2 separate regions of the Homo sapiens genome follow, and region 2 is linked to region 1. Evidence: promoter capture Hi-C in 16 types of primary human blood cells and fetal thymus (Javierre and others, 2016). All regions are on one chromosome and are shown on one strand. The core of a region is centred on a gene start or on the middle of the fragment in contact, and the rest is flanking DNA. Distances in the headings are between cores, read along the strand shown.

Region 1 (2,559 bases), core at 41-2,540:
AGAGTTCGGAAACCCCGCGCTGCCCCCTCGCAGCCCCTTGTCTCTGGCGCCGAGCCCCTGGACTCGGCTTGCCCCGGGTCCGTGGCTCAGGCGCCCCGACGCGACCCAGCTCGGAGCCCGGCGGCCGCCTCTGCGGCTGCCAGCCCGTGCGGCGTCTCCAATCCGCGCCAAGGCGCCCCCACACGCCCGCTCCTCACCCCTGCGTGGAGATGCCCTTGACCTTGTGGCCTTTGGCCAGCCCACCGGCTCCCCCGACCCCAGCTCCTAACTCCTGGCGTCCGGGGCTCACCTCTCTGCCCTCCGTGCAAACTCCCGGACTCGCCCCCCCACCGGCCGGGCCTGTCGCCTGCCTGTCCCACACTGGCTTCCCCAGCCGGCGCCCCACATTTGCGCGGCCCCTTCTTGCACCCAGAATCCCCACCTGGTTGTCGCCAGGGTTCCCACATCCTCCGGTCCCCTGTGCCTGTCATAGTCCTTCCGCCTCCCGCTTCTGGTCCACTTCGAGCGCCGGCTCCTCGACGCTCGCCTGGGTCACCACCCTCCCACCCGCGCCCGCTCTAAGACGCGAATCTGTCTTTCCAAGTCTGGCTTGCTCCAGGACCTCCCCGGCTAGCACCGCTCCTCCTCCCCTGACCTTCCTCCTCACTCCCACTCCCGGCTCCAGTCGGACTAGTGCGGGGCTTTAGCACATGCAGTTCCTTTGGCTTGAATGCCCTTCCCCAGCTTTTCCCCGTGGACTTCACAACTCGGTCAAGGGTCCCTTTTTCCAGGTCTTTCCTGATATCCCGGACAACGCGTGTCATCCCCTGGGTGCCCACGGCACTCCATCCTCCCCTCAGGTGACTTCTCGTCCAGGGTTCCCTGGGATGCACTGTCGTGGCCCATGGCCGAGGCTGGGCCTGGAACGGAGCCGCGCTGGCTAGGGAGCCGAAGGGGCCCACACTTGGCGTAGGAAGGTTCCGGTAGCCCCCTCCCAATGCCCGGCGCCGCCACACCACTGCCCAGAGCGTCCCTCTCGCCCCCTCCCCCAGCCAGGCCGGCTCCTACCCGGGAGCACGGCACACGTTGCGGCCGCGAGGGTTCAGTTCCTGAGGCGCCACGGTGTCCGGCAGCATCCAGAGCAGCAGCAGCAGCAGCAGCGACGGCAGCAGCGGTGACGGCGGCCCCCCGGCTCCCCGGCGCCGCGCCGGCCCGGCCCCCCGGGGCCCTGCGCCCTCCATGAGGCGCGGGGCAGGCGCGGGGCGGGCACGGGCGCGGGTGCGGCCGCAGCGAGAGCGGCCGGAAGCGGAGTGCGAGGCCGGGCGGGGGGCGGCAGGAGGGGCGCCGAGCCGGGCAGGAAATTCCACATCGGCTCCCTGATCCCGGGCCAGCCGCGGCCGGCCAGGCGGCAGCGCCCGCCCCGCGCTCCAGACCCCACCCTCCGGCCTAGCCACCGCCCCTCCGCGCAGCCCCCGCCCCCATTTGGCCGCTCGCAAACTTGGGGGCGAACTTGGAGGAGGCCCGCCGAGCGCTGGTGGAGGGAGGGTCCGCCCGAGGAATCCCCGGTTCCCGCGCCTTTCCCTCCGCTCCCTAGACATCTACCGAAGCAGCCGCCCCTGCGCGCCCACTGCGTAGGCCAGGCCCGGGACGGGAAGGCGGATCGGGGACACGGACGCGACTCCGCAAGCCCACCCCCGCTCCCAGCGCCTCGGAACCGGCCAAGGGAGTGGGGCCCGCAGACAGCCCAGGTCGAGGCCGAAAGCCAACTCCACAGCACCCCACCGCGAAGTCCTTGTAGTGCTGGGGTGTGCGGTCAGCTCCCCCTGCGCACTCCTGCGCACTCAGAGCTCGCAAGGGGCGGACCGAGCAGGATGCTTGAGGCCTGTGGTAGACTCGGTCCGGACCAGAGGCCTGGGGGAAGGGGTCTCCGTAGGGACGGATGGGAGAGATACAGAGGAAGTAGAATGGCCAGGCTGTGGACTGCGGTAGGAAGTAGAGGTAAAGACAGAAGGAGACCCCCGGGATGGAAACCCTGCAGTCCTAGTTGAGGAGTGAAGGGGGCTGGGGGAGCCTGGGCGGTGGATTCTGCTGGCTGTCGGATTTCCAGGAGAGGCTGGGGCTAGAGAGTGGGAACTCCTGCATCAGGTAAGGTGGGTAACAGCACAGAGCAGAAGGAAGGTGTGGGAAGGGAGCAAGACAGAGGGACAGGCCCTAGGGAGCCAGCGGGGAAGCTGGACTTGGACTGGGAGGCAGCAGGGTGCGGGTCCCCGGGGGGCAACTGGGGCAGACCGACTCTGGAAGTTGGGCAGGGAGCACAAATGTCCCGTGTGTAGCCAGGTCCTAGTGAGGATGTTTGTCTTTTGGGGACTTGAGAGCTGGCAGAAGGCCTAAGCAGGGAGCGGGCACCTCCGTTCTTTGGGGAGCAGGCCACATGCGGCCCACAGGCTCACTGAGGGAGGGCAGGCAGACTCTGTCCAGGTGTGGCCAGATAGCCCCGAAGGGTGGGGCTGGAGGAGGGGGCTTGGAGGAGGAGCCACTGAAAGGCCCAAGGCCATGGGCATCACCAGGCTGGCACAGGCA
Region 2 (2,559 bases), core at 33-2,532, 290 kb before region 1:
TGTCCTTCTTGAGGTTCTGGGGGCCAGAGGAGGTAAGCACAGCAGGCCCCTCGCCCCGCCCTCCGTGGCCTCTCGCCCGCCGGGCCCCGTCCTTCTGGGTGCTGCCCTGTGGGGACCTACCAGGAGCCCGGTGGCCTGGTTGTTCAGGGCCATGTGCATCTCAGCCACGTTGTCCCACACCTAGGGGGAGGTGGGGTCACGCCTGAGGAGCAGGACCCACTGGGTGGGCCCCCAGCACCCCTCCCCCTCAGCCAGGCGGGCACCTCTGTGATGACCATCTTCTTCCTCTCAAAGCACAGGCGGATCTGCTGCAGCTCGTTCTGAGGGTGGGGCCCAGGATGGGCTTGGGCAGCATCAGCAGGGTGGCCAGTACCTCCCCGCTGGGCCCACTGGCCTACTGCACGAAGACCTCCCTCCCTAATGAATCCCTCAGGCCCACCTGGAGTGCTGTTACGAAGCTTCCTCCCCCCCCACAGCCCCTCCCCCAGGCCCACCTGGGACTGTTGCACGAAAGCCTCTTGCCCCTGGCACAGCTCCCGCCGCAGCAGCTGCAGAGGTGCCCTGTTCCCCAAGGGCTGCGTGCCAGCCGGGTCGGGGGGCTGTGGGAGAGCCCCCAGATCAGCCCTAAGACTGCGGGCTAGAGGGGCGTTGGCTGCATGGGGTCCCTGGGCCCTGTATTTACCCAGGCCAGAGCAGTGCAGCTTGAGTGTTCGGGACACAGGGGCAGGAACTGCTGCCCCGGCCCCAGGAGGGCCCCCAGCTGCTCCCGAAGTTCCTGATTCTGCCTTTTCTGGGGTGGGGGGCAGAGAGAGGGGGCTGCCTGTCATGGCCGCTCCTGCGGCTGGGGCTGGGGCAGGGGCAGGGGCGCCAGGTGGTGGGTGGGGCTGGGGCTGGGGCAGGGGCAGGGGCAGGGGCGCCAGGTGGTGGGTGGGGCTGGGGCTGGGGCAGGGGTACCAGGCGGTGGGTGGGGCTGGGGCTGGGGCTGGGGCGGTGGGTGGGGTGCTCACCAGGCTGTGGTTCTCCTGCTCCAGCTGCAGGAAGGACTGTTCTGCAGAGCCCAGCAGCCCGCACTGAAGCTGGGACAGGGCTACCCTGGGCGAGGCCAGGGCCCCTCCCTCCCGTGACAGGGGTGGGCATGGGCAGGGTCTGGTCCCTGAGCCAATGGATCCCCCCTGCCTGGGAGCCCCCTGGTTCGACCCTGGGTGCAGGGGCCAGCCCCACCCAAGCCCTGCCTCCAGGTCTCCTTGTCTCGGCCCCTCAGTGTCTCTCGCTCTCTGCTCCTGGCTGGACAGAAAGAGCCCGGGAGCCTCGCCCTCCACTGTGGGCCCACTGCCCCCTGCCCCTGGGACTGGGAAAGGTCTCTGGGACTGCACTGAGTGAGCAGAGGAGATGGGGCCCAGGCAGGGCCACCCTACAAATCCCTGGCAGGGCTGGTCCAGGCCTCCTCCATGGCTGCTGGAGGCTGGGGTTGGGGGACACTGGGGGTGGGGGTGGCCGCAGGGGCCCAGGGTTTTCAGCCCCTCCATCCCTCCCTGCAACCCCTTCCTGATCCCAGGTCCAGGCTCTGGCCTGGCCCAACCTGCCACCCTCTTACTGAGGGGGCTGCCCCAGGCAACAGTCACAAAGGCCTGGGTGCAGCCAGGGCGGTCACAATGGGCCCCTCCCACCTGGTCCTGAAGCTGCCCCGCCTGATGACCTCACTGCCTCTGACCCACTGACCCACCATGCGAGTTTTCTTTCTTTCTTTCTTTTATGGGAAGGGGACTTGCTCTGTCACCCAGGCTGGAGTGCAGTGGCACAAGGTGTCTCATTGCAGCCTCCAACTCCTGGGCTCAGGCAATCCTCCCACCTCAGCCTCCCAAGTAGCTAGGACTACAGATGTGTGCAACCATGCCCGGCTAATTTTTAAGTTTTTTGTAGAGATAAGGGTCTCGCTATGTTGCCCAGGCTGGTCACAAACTCCTGGCCTCAAGCGATCCTCTTACCTCAATATCTGAAAGTGTTGGGATTACGGATGTGAGCCACTGCACCCAGCCTAGTTATAAAACAGATAATACACACACTCACAGTGTGGATTCAAAAAGTATCAAACAATAAAAATGGTGTCCAAGCTTTTCCCACCTTTATCTCCTGTCCCTGCAGACAGGAGCTTCCTCTTTAAGCTCCTAGAGGTGGGCTGCCGTCCCCTGCCCCTGGTTCACACAGAAGAGGTCATCCTGTAGCCCAGCTTTGCTTTTCACCTAATATATCTCTGAGGTTTTAAAACATTCTTTTCTAGCTATGTATTGAATATTTACATTATGCCAGATCCAGTACATGCCATTGTTATCCTCTGTTTTTTTTTTTTTTTTTGAGACGGAGTCTTGCTCTGTCGCCCAGGCTGGAGTGCAGTGGCGCAATCTCGGCTCACTGCAAGCTCCGCCTCCCAGGTTCACGCCATTCTCCTGCCTCAGCCTCCCGAGTAGCTGGGACTACAGGCGCCTGTCACCGCGCCCGGCTAATTTTTTTGTATTTTTAGTAGAGACGGGGTTTCACCGTGTTAGCCAGGATGGTCTCGAT

What was found. The method cuts DNA at HindIII sites, captures the fragments that hold promoters and counts their contacts. A CHiCAGO score of 5 or more calls a contact.
Region 2: a fragment that was not itself captured here is called in contact with the fragment with the promoter of SCARF2 in region 1 in 1 of 17 cell types (M0 macrophages); the score reaches 5.6 in M0 macrophages.

What each region holds. Positions count from the first base shown.
Region 1 is chr22:20,436,535-20,439,093 of GRCh38, forward strand. SCARF2 (scavenger receptor class F member 2) reads right to left here and starts at 1,291. Exons shown (of 11, transcript NM_182895.5): 1 at 1,048-1,291. The coding sequence starts at 1,220. LOC107985588 (a long non-coding RNA gene) reads left to right here and starts at 1,462. Exons shown (of 2, transcript XR_001755623.2): 1 at 1,462-1,977. The HindIII fragment of the contact is 6,009 bases long and covers 1-2,559 here.
Region 2 is chr22:20,149,461-20,152,019 of GRCh38, forward strand. It overlaps CCDC188 (coiled-coil domain containing 188), which reads right to left and starts at 1,595. Exons shown (of 9, transcript NM_001365892.2): 1 at 1,008-1,595; 2 at 683-790; 3 at 495-599; 4 at 264-320; 5 at 121-180; 6 at 1-16. The coding sequence starts at 1,526. The HindIII fragment of the contact is 1,653 bases long and covers 457-2,109 here.